3 separate regions of the Homo sapiens genome follow, and regions 2 and 3 are each linked to region 1. The links are contacts of gene promoters, found by promoter capture Hi-C in blood cells and fetal thymus (Javierre and others, 2016). All regions are on one chromosome and are shown on one strand. The core of a region is centred on a gene start or on the middle of the fragment in contact, and the rest is flanking DNA. Distances in the headings are between cores, read along the strand shown. Region 1 holds the start of LILRA6 (leukocyte immunoglobulin like receptor A6). Region 2 has its middle 11 kb from the start of LILRA5. Region 3 overlaps CNOT3 (CCR4-NOT transcription complex subunit 3).

The links. Contacts are between HindIII fragments. The CHiCAGO score rates a contact against its expected background, and 5 or more counts as called.
Region 2: a contact is called between a fragment that was not itself captured here and the fragment with the promoter of LILRA6 in region 1, in 2 of 17 cell types (M1 macrophages and M0 macrophages). The highest score is 6.6, in M1 macrophages.
Region 3: a contact is called between a fragment that was not itself captured here and the fragment with the promoter of LILRA6 in region 1, in 1 of 17 cell types (neutrophils). The highest score is 7.4, in neutrophils.

The regions. Positions count from the first base shown.
Region 1 is chr19:54,241,022-54,244,523 of GRCh38, reverse strand. LILRA6 (leukocyte immunoglobulin like receptor A6) reads left to right here and starts at 1,734. Exons shown (of 8, transcript NM_024318.5): 1 at 1,734-1,806; 2 at 1,970-2,005; 3 at 2,214-2,498; 4 at 2,646-2,948; 5 at 3,397-3,502. The coding sequence starts at 1,773. LOC107987463 (a long non-coding RNA gene) reads left to right here. Exons shown (of 3, transcript XR_007067341.1): 3 at 1,063-1,131. RefSeq lists an enhancer at 161-659. The HindIII fragment of the contact is 25,461 bases long and covers 1-3,502 here.
Region 2 is chr19:54,322,371-54,325,985 of GRCh38, reverse strand. No RefSeq gene overlaps it. Among named protein-coding and RNA genes, the nearest start is that of LILRA5, 11 kb to the right of the region's middle. RefSeq lists a silencer at 515-809. The HindIII fragment of the contact is 479 bases long and covers 1,215-1,693 here.
Region 3 is chr19:54,139,601-54,142,995 of GRCh38, reverse strand. It overlaps CNOT3 (CCR4-NOT transcription complex subunit 3), which reads right to left. Exons shown (of 18, transcript NM_014516.4): 2 at 1-67. The coding sequence starts at 17. Among named protein-coding and RNA genes, the nearest start is that of CNOT3, 3.5 kb to the right of the region's middle. The HindIII fragment of the contact is 4,608 bases long and covers 1-3,395 here.

The sequences.
Region 1 (3,502 bases), core at 485-2,984:
AGGGTTTCTCCCACGGCTGTCCAGGCATCAGCCTGATGAAGGGGATTGTTGCCGCTGCTCCTGCCCCACTCCCCCAAACTCAGTGTCAGCTCAAGATTGTGCCCAGCAGGGATGGGACCAACGCCAGCCTCACACTCACCTGTGGGGCAGACGCCCATGTCTGACCACCGTGGATCGAATCTGTTTCTCACACACAGGGGAGGGGCTGAGCGCTGACCGTGGCCTCCAGTGAGTGAGCAGAGACCCCCCAGCGCCTGTCCACACACACAGGGGAGGGGGAGCCACCGCTTCCAGCCTCACCCAGAGCCCTGACCCCTCCCTGCCTGGGAGGACGTGGGGTTCCTCTTCTGTCCCACATGGAGGTGGGAGCCTCCTCCTCCCTAATGACGCTCGGTGGTCCCAGACACCTGTGGCCACTCAGCATTGAACTCTGCTCATGGAAGGGGATGCGTCTCAATGTGAGGAACTGTTCTTCCTCTTTCTCGGCCTGTGGCTGTGATGATCTGCATATTTCAGACGTATCACAAGAATTTCATGGTATTTGGAGCCAATGTGGGCTCTTGAATGGGGGCGTCAATCATCCTCCTCAACTGTGGAGCCCAGCACCAGGATCCTCTCCCGTCCCCACCCTCCTGTCTGAACTGGTCTGGAAATTCACCATGGCTGAGCCTCCCATGTCCTGGGCACCACTGACCCCCACAGCCACTGTGATGAGTGGGGTTCACGACAGCAGGCTCAGAGGTGACATTCATGTCCAAAGTCTCATAAACCCTAGATGATAATCAGGAATTAAATACAAATCAGCTCACCTTCCCCAGAATCAGATTATAGATTACAATGAAACATATATATATATATATATATATTTCTCTTTATCCCCTCTATTTCTCCTTTTCAGACAGGATCCTGCGCTGTCGCCCAGGCTGGAAGGCCAAGGGGTGATCATATCTCCCTGCAGCCTCCGCCTCCCGGGCCCAGGTGGTCCTCCCACCTCAGCCTCCTGAGTAGCTGGGACCACAGGCATGAGCCTCCATGCCCAGCTCACTTTTTTCTTTTCTGTAGAAACAGGGTCACAGTCTGTTTCCCAGGACTGTCTGAAGCTCCTGGCCTCAAGCCATCACCCGCCACAGCCTCCTGAAGTGCTGGGATTCCAGGCATGAGCCACCACGGTAGACGCTGCATTTCTCCTCTGTGCTCACTGCTACACGCAGCTCAGCCTGGACTACACAGCCAGGTGTCAGGTGCGTCTCTGCTGATCTGAGTCTGCCTGCAGCATGGACCTGGGTCTTCCCTGAAGCATCTCCAGGGCTGGAGAGACGACTGCCATGGTAAGGACCCCGTAACGCTGAGCTGATGGACGGGCTGAAGGAGGGAGGGAGACCCCATGGGGAGGCTCTGAGAGGGAGGATGAGCCCACAGTCACCCTCGCCTCAAAGGGGCTGACTCCAGAAGGCACTGGTTCTATTTGCTGCTGTGTCCTAGCTCTCAGTGAGATAAAGATAAATCAGGCAGACAGTGGCCCGGGGGCAGGGAGACCCCATTTCTCTCTGAAATGCCTGCAGAGAGCCTGGTGCCTGCCCCCACTTCAGCCCTGGGGAAATCAGAGCCAGGTTCCTGGGGTGGCAGTTCCTCTTCCTGTGGGCTGAGGATGAGACAACCCCATGACAAGAAGGACCCAGCCTCCGAGCGGCCACACCCTGTGTGTCTCTCTGTCCTGCCAGCACTGAGGGCTCATCCCTCTGCAGAGCCCGGGGTCACCAGGAGGAGACGCCATGACCCCCACCCTCGCAGCCCTGCTCTGCCTAGGTGAGATTTCAAGATGGGGAGGGGGAGATCTGAGTCTTGGAGGAACCCCACCCCACACACAAGCCCTGGTCCATCAGGAGACCTCAAAAGCTCAGGAGGCACCAGGGCGGGGAGGACCTGCTCAGGCTTCAGGGCAAATGCCTCACAGGGAATTCTCTTCCAGGGCTGAGTCTGGGCCCCAGGACCCACGTGCAGGCAGGTGAGTCTGTCCCCAGCTGTCCCAGGTCCCTCATCCTTACTAGGGACAAGGGCCACACATGGGCAGCTGGGGGAGGAGACAGCAGTTCTGGGTGGGGAGGAGACAGTAGTTCTGGGTGACTGATGGGGATGATGAGGAAGTCCTGGGGCTGGGAGCTGGGATCTGAGCGTGGGGATGTCTTGGGATCCAGCCTCTGATTTCCATCTAGGGCCCTTCCCCAAACCCACCCTCTGGGCTGAGCCAGGCTCTGTGATCAGCTGGGGGAGCCCCGTGACCATCTGGTGTCAGGGGAGCCTGGAGGCCCAGGAGTACCGACTGGATAAAGAGGGAAGCCCAGAGCCCTGGGACAGAAATAACCCACTGGAACCCAAGAACAAGGCCAGATTCTCCATCCCATCCATAACAGAGCACCATGCGGGGAGATACCGCTGCCACTATTACAGCTCTGCAGGCTGGTCAGAGCCCAGCGACCCCCTGGAGCTGGTGATGACAGGTGAGAGGACACTCTGGGGTCCCAGCCCCAGGCTCTGCCCTCAGGAAGGGGGTCGGCTCTCAGGGGTGTCTCCCTCTCACAGCCCAGCCCTGGGGATGATGTGGGAGGTGGGAGCCCCATTTAACATGGTGCCTCTTTCTCTCCTAGGAGCCTATAGCAAACCCACCCTCTCAGCCCTGCCCAGCCCTGTGGTGGCCTCAGGGGGGAATATGACCCTCCAATGTGGCTCACAGAAGGGATATCACCATTTTGTTCTGATGAAGGAAGGAGAACACCAGCTCCCCCGGACCCTGGACTCACAGCAGCTCCACAGTGGGGGGTTCCAGGCCCTGTTCCCTGTGGGCCCCGTGAACCCCAGCCACAGGTGGAGGTTCACATGCTATTACTATTATATGAACACCCCCCGGGTGTGGTCCCACCCCAGTGACCCCCTGGAGATTCTGCCCTCAGGTGAGGGAGCCACGGCCTTGTCTAACACACTTTCGGGGCAGCTGACAGGTTGTGGGGAGTTTGGCTGGTGACTGAATCTGGAAAGGACCCAGAGTGATGTGTTGAAGGACGGGCTGAAGGCATGAGGGAGACCCCATGGGGAGGCTCTGACATGGGAGGAGGAGCCCTCAGCCACGCTCACCTGAACGGGGAGGACTCAGGAAGGCATCGGTGTGTTTGCTGTGAGGTCCCAGCTCTCAGGGAGAGGAGGAAAGATCAGGCACAGTGGCCAGGGCTAGGGAGACCCCACTCCTCTGAAATGACTCCAAGACAGCCCCGGGTGAGAAGGAGGCCCTGGGGTCAGAGACTCAGAGCATGAGAGACAGTGAGACCTGCAGGGCCAGGACGGGAGAAGGAAGGGGCGTGGGAGGAACCAGCCCTCTCAGTCCTGGCTCCTCTTTCCCTCCAGGCGTGTCTAGGAAGCCCTCCCTCCTGACCCTGCAGGGCCCTGTCCTGGCCCCTGGGCAGAGCCTGACCCTCCAGTGTGGCTCTGATGTCGGCTACGACAGATTTGT
Region 2 (3,615 bases), core at 205-2,704, 82 kb before region 1:
ACCTTCATTTCCCTGCGTTGGAGGCAGAGTACTGATCAAGACCACTGAGTTTTCCACAACCCAACCCATCACTTAGGATACCTGAATGCTTCTGGTTAACAAAGGTCAAGCATAAAGCCCACTGCCAGCGCTACAACTGGCTCTCACCAGCAATTGCCACCTACTGGCCTGGAGGTCAAACCATACAGCACATTACAACGTCTCCTGAAACAAGTGACAGTGATTGGGGAAGAGACAAGTTTCACACAAACTCTGCCACCACCATTGCCCACGCCACCCCAGCTACACCTCTCCTTTGCAGAACCGCTTGAGGAAAGGCTAAACCTTTCTGCAAAGGAGAGGTGTCTAATTCCAGTGCTCGGGGTCTGGAGCCCATGCCACACTTGCCCCTCAGTTCTGTCTGTGGGGACCTGTCCCCTACTTGAGACCAGATTGCCAAGGAGGAGGCCTTAAGTTAACTTGCCTGCTCTGTCACCTACCTGAGCCTGGGAAGGTTGAGGCTGCAGTGATCCAAGATCGTGCCACTGCACTCCACCCTGGGTGACAAAGTGAGACCCTGTCTCAAAAAACAAAAACAAAAAAACTGCTCTGACCTTTTCAAAAGTATCAAGGTCAAGAACAAAGATAAACAAAGGCACCACGCAGTGGAGTAAGAGCCTGTCTATTGCCTATTGCTCTCAAGCGCCATCTACTGGATTACAGCCACACTACAACACCAAAAATCACTTTACTAAATTCTACCGCCTGGAAAACCAAGAGCAAGAATTCAGCAAAGACCCTGTACAGAGCCTTAGTCCCCTGAAAACTTCCAGAAATAAAGCCAACAGACTATACTCAATTTATACCCTTGCAATGAAAGGAATAGCAACCCTCCCAGATGAGAAAAAAAATCAGGGAAATAACTCCTATTATCTCCAAACCAGTCCACGAGCTCCCCAGAAATTGTTCTTAATCAGTATGAATTGTCTGAAATGACAAACGTAGAATTTGGAATCTGGATGGCAAGGAAGGTCATTCAAATCAAGAGCAAAGTTGAAATTCAATCCAAGGAAGCCAAGCAATCCAGTAAAATGATTAATGACATGAACGATTAAATTTTAAGAAACACCCAAACTGAACTTCTCGAGCTGAAAAATTCATGACACGAATTTCATAATACGATGAGAAGCATTAACAGCAGAATAGACCAAGCTGAGGAAAAGAATTTCAAAGCTTGAAGACTTGTTTGAATCAAATCAGTCAAATATAAGGAAAAAATATTTTTAAAAGTGAACAAAATCTCTGAGAAATATGATATTATCTAAAGACACCAAATGTATGACTTGTCAGCATTCCTGAAAGGGGAAGAGAGAATAAGCAACTTGGAAAATATATTTGAGGATATAGTCCATGAATATTTTCCTAAACTCGCTAGAGAGTTTGACACACAAATCCAAGAAACATAGAGACGCCCAGCCAGATAACGGTCTAGATTTGAGGGTATGGTGAAAAAGATGCTTAGAAAATGTCAGAAGTGAGACACAATGGCTCATTTGCTTGTGTCTTGCATTCTCCACCTTGCAATTCTGTACTGATGGCTGTACTATCAGCAGGATCCACTCGTTATTATATTCACTATCAACCTTCAGCCTAAGGGTTTTGGCAGCCATTGATGTTTATTGCTTGTATACTCAACGCACAGGTTATCCAAGCTTTGCAGGGTTAACTATTATTATGCAAAAACTCTACAGCTATTCTTAGGCAAAAACATTACTATAGCTATTACTATACTTATTATTATGTAGAAACATTCTACAGAAAAGAATGTTTCCTGTGTAACACTTCAGATAAACAAAAGAGATCTTGCTTCTTGCCTTCATTTCCACGTTTTTGATGTGGAGATTTTGTTCTTTTCCCATTCCTCATATTTGAGGGGTTTTTTGTTTTTTAATTTTGTTTTTAACAGTAGTAAACTGATAGGCTTTGAACATATTCATTAGTTTTAATACACTACCTATATTATTTGATTCTATAAATATTCCACATTTTGCCATTGGGAACTTTTCATGATAGACTTTATGTTCAGGTAACATGAATCTGATGGTATGTGGTGATGTCTTTGCTTTCTTGCATGATAAGAAGTTCTGACTTCATCTCCTGTATTTTCTCTCCGAATGTGGAGTCAGCTATTTCTCTAGGATGAAATTTAGAATTTTTGACCATACATATTTTAAGAATTAAACATTTTTGAGGGTGTATTCACTTATGTTTTACTATATATAGTCAAAATTATATAATAATATTAACTATATGTCACTACATAATATATAATTTGATTTAAAAGTATACATTTATTATATAATATGATAAATAATATATGCATTATAAAATATATGGTCAAGTAATTTTGCTTACATTCTAGTACAAATAATTCTTCCTTGTTTAGTAATGCCCTAATTTGATAGGAACTCAATTCTATTTCCTTTTTTAAGGTATTATCTTTAGATTTATAAGTTATATTTAAAAATATTTTATAGTATAGACATTCAGGAATATGTTTATATATGTATATATATATATTTTTAAACGGAGTCTTGCTCGTCGCCCAGGCTAGAATGCTGTGGGTGGCAAGCCACCCAGGTGCCGAGGCAAGAGACAGAGGACACGAGCTGTTCCAGTATAATAAAATATAAAACAAGAATAGTTATACCAGATATAGATCTTAGTTATGATTATATATGAATATCATTAATCATTTGTTTGTAGCAGTTACCCTTTATCCCAATATTATAATAATCCTCCCTCTGTAATCATAACCTAGGAAAAGCCAGGCCATACAGAGATAGGAGCTGAGGGGACACAGTGAGAAGTGACCAGAAGACAAGAGTGCGAGCCCTCTGTCATGCCCGGACAGGGCCACCAGAGGGCTCCTTGGTCTAGCGGTGACGCCAGCGTCTGGGAAGACGTCCGTTGCCAAGCGGACCGTGGTCTAGCGGTAGCGTAAGTGGCAAGGAACAACACCCGCTACTTAGCAGACTGGGGAAGGGAGTCTCCCTTTCCCCGGGGGAGTTTAGAGAAGACTCTGCTCCTCCACCTCTTGTGGAGGGCCTGACATCAGTCAGGCTCGCCCGCAGTTATCCGGAGGCCTAACCGTCTCCCTGTGATGCTGTGCTTCGGTGGTCACGCTCCTAGTCCGCCTTCATGTTCCATCCTGTACACCTGGCTCTGCCTTCTAGATAGCAGTAGTAAATTAGTGAAAGTACTAATAGTCCCTGATATGCAGAAATAATGGCGTAAGCTGTCTTTCTCTCTGTCTCCTCTCCCTCTCTGCCTCGGCTGCCAGGCAGGGAAGGGCCCCCTGTCCAGTGGACACGTGACCCACGTGACCTTACCTATCATTGGAGGTGACTCACACTCTTTACCCTGCCCCTTCTGCCTTGTATCCAATAAATAACAGCGCAGCCCAACATTCGGGGCCACTACCGGTCTCCGCGCATTGGTGGTAGTGGTCCCCCGGGCGCAGCTGCCTTTTCTTTTATCTCTTTGTCTTGTGTCTTTATTTCTACACTCTATCGTCACCACACACAGGGAGAGACCCACCGACCCTGTGGGGCTGGTCCCTACAAATGCAGTGGC
Region 3 (3,395 bases), core at 1-2,500, 100 kb after region 1:
TTGCGCTTGTCCGCCATCTTCCCTGCCCTACAGACGCACTCTCTTCATACTCTCTTGGAGACGGACGCTGCTAGGAGAGATTGGAGAGGAATTAACACGTATTCCCTGGCTGGTAAAAACCCAGAGACATGGACCTAGTCAGCATAGTGAGGTAGGTGGGACTGGTAAAGAGAAGAAGCATTTGCTATCTGACAAGAGACCAGCCCCAGTTCTCCTGATGCTCGCTTGACTGCCCAGCATAGTGTCTGGCCAACAGGGGACCCCATAAGTTTGTTGAAACAAGAAAAGTTACATACTTTTTTGTGTGCCTCTGACTCAGGAAGTGGAAAATTCCTAGAGCATGGAGTACCTTCTCCCCAGAATACACTCAAAAAGGTTTTTCAGAGCAGGACAGTCATGCTGCACACAGCTGATGACTGGGATGGAGGCATTAGCCCTGGAGATCACACTTCCTACTCAGAGGGGCTGGGCAGAGGTGGCTAGGAGAGGTCATCCCTCAGACAAGTCAGGAGACAAATGAAACTGGCAGCTCACAGAGAAGGGCGTGTGTGTGTGTGTGTGTAAGCTGTAGGTAGGAGAAGAAAGATTGGGGGTGGGGGAAAACGACGGCGAGCAGAGATGCCGAAAGCTGTGAAGAGCTGAACCCGCTCATGCAGACAGGGCTGAATGCCAAGTAGAAGGGACTCAAACCACCAAGACATTTATTCCAGAGCAGGATCCTTAAACCAAAAGGAAATAACACTCCTAACCCAAAGAAGCTAATACCAAGAAGGCTTAGAGATTTGGGGGCAGAAGGCAGTACCCAAGAGAGACCTGGGAGAAGACAGAAATCTTACTAAGATAAGAGGGTGCAAAGGTACCGCAGCTGTGAGGGAGCCGATCTGCACTCACGGAGGAATCCCATAGCAAGTGGATTGGTAATTTAGAGTCAGGGAGACATAGACCATCAGGGCAGGAACCCAAAACTTCAAGAGAGGAGCGTCTTTATTTTAAAGGAAGTTACCTGGAACCCAGAGAAGACTGAGGTCAAAAGGGAGTTCCAAGGAGCTTTAGTCCAAGGGAAGACATACCTTAGGGCCTGACAGCGAGACCAGGGGAGCCCTGGGAAGAGAGGCTTATGCCTCAGAAGAAGACTTCTGAGATACCAGCGGAGATTGCCCTCTTCCCCTCCAGGGAGGGGGCCTACAATGAAAAGCACAGTTCCCTGGGATCCACGGGCCGCTCCCACTCTACGTGTGCAGGGCAGGGAACCCTGGAGTAGTCACTTACTGTAAAGACAGAAACAGCCCCATACTGAGGAACAAGAGCCTCAATACAGAGGGAAGTCACACCAAAAGAGTCCTCACCCACAAAGAAGGGAACATCTGGCAAACAGTGCTATCCAACAGAACTTTGCAATGCTGGAAACACTCTATTTGCGCATATCTGTTGGCCACTGAACATCTGAAATGTGGCAAGTGTAATGGAGGAACTGAATTTTTCATTTTTAACTAGTTACTAATCACCACATGTGACTAGCAGCAACCATATGGGACGGATATGCTTTAGAACAAGAAGCCCACAAAGGACAGGGCTGGTACCTTACCCCCAGGGAGAATTTTCCCAACACCGCAGGGACCCATTCTGGGTGATAATAGGTAGGGGTGCTACCTTACACTTGAGGGAATTTAAATCTCCTCAGTAAAAGGCCCAACCTAAAGAAAGCCGCAGCAGCCCCCGCCCAGGTCAGCTATCACGCCCTACCTGGGGAATCTCTAAGAAGGCAAAGCAACCAACAAAAGGACCCAGGAGAAGGTGCCACAGTGGGGATTCAGGCTGAGGAGGGGAAAGCCTCTTTGACCCAGGGAGCTCACACAAGGCAAGGGCCTGGACACCAGAGCTCAGGTGTGCAGGGATCCTCACCAAAGTCCAACACCCCAACACAGAAAAGCCTCTTACTGCATAGGGGGAACAAGAATGTGAAACGAGAGTTTACACTCCCTCTTTCCATCCCAAGAACCCAACAGAGGGTCATGGGCAGGTGCTCCAGCCCAGAGAGAGAAGAGGTCTCATGGTCTACACCCCTAAACAAGGCAATCAACACCTTAGGCAGGTGACGCCCTCCCTGTGTCTCCACACGGAAAGGACTGGTATCCTAGTGCAGAGGAAGAATACCCACAGACAGGAGACCACACTGTGGCAGCAAGAGAAGGAAGTCCTGGAGGGGTCACAAGCCAGGAGGAGGGGAACAAGAGCGCTAACCCAGGGAGGTGATGTTTCAGACAGAACAGTGTGACATCGAAGTCGGCTACAGCTGAGACCCAGTGAGGAGGCAGCTCCTCCACAGAGAAGGGGCAAGTGCCAGAGGCCCAGGGTACTTGTCCCCTAGAGAGGCTGGAGCCTTAGCCACAGTAGAGACAACACCTTCCCCGCTAAGAAAATCCCTATATCATGAGGGTATCTGTACCTCTGGTCCCCCCAGCAAAGGACCAGAGAGAAGGGAAGCTGGAGCCTGAGTCTCGAAGCAGAGACGCCGCCAGAGAAGAAAGAGCCCCATTTGCTGTAGTCAGGGGGGCATCCACCAAGATCCTCCAAGGAAGGTGGTGATCGCAGGTCCACTCTCAGGCGTGAAGAACCTGTGCTCCAGCAGCAAAGGCTCTCCAAGAGCACTGAGGAATCTGGGAACCTCGGCCCAGGAGGAGACTTACCCAAGAGGAACACACATCCCCACAGGGAAGGGACCCACAAGGCGGGTGGCGGGGTGGGGGGAGGTGAGCAGGACACCAGCCTCACAGGAGCCAACACGCTAAAATCAGAGCCAAAACCAGTAAAGAAGAGCCCCCCAGACTTCATCTCAGGGAAGATGATACCACCACACAAAGACTCGAGGAGGGAGGGGCAGGAGGTCAGCCCTGGGAAACTAACACCGGGTGGTCCTTAACCTTGGGGGCCGTCATGTGCCCACAGAGTGGTCTTTGTCATGAGGCACCTTTGATCTGGGAGAGCTTCCGCCTCTGCAGCAAGGAGCTCTGAGAAGTGATGTTGAAGGGTGATCCTTAACCCAGGTGGCTGCTGACGTGGCCACACAGAGGCTCTGAGACTCCAGAAGAAGGATGCGTTAGGGCCTGGGGTAGAGGTAGTCATCTCCACTGAGATGCCCCATGCCAAGGGTGGGGGGCTGGAATCTCCCACCTTGGAAAGTCTACACCAGAGAAGTCTCTGGTCCCAGGGACAGGGTCTACAGTGGAGTCTCCCGCTTGAGACTCAGGTATCTTACATCCACACAGCCAGGAAACTATGCCTTACCCCATACAGTGACAAATCAAGAGGGGGTTTTGGAAGCATTAGCCGGGGGCACCTGCATCCGAGAGGGGTCCTCAGCCTTACGGTGGGGACACATGCAGAGGCGTGGACAC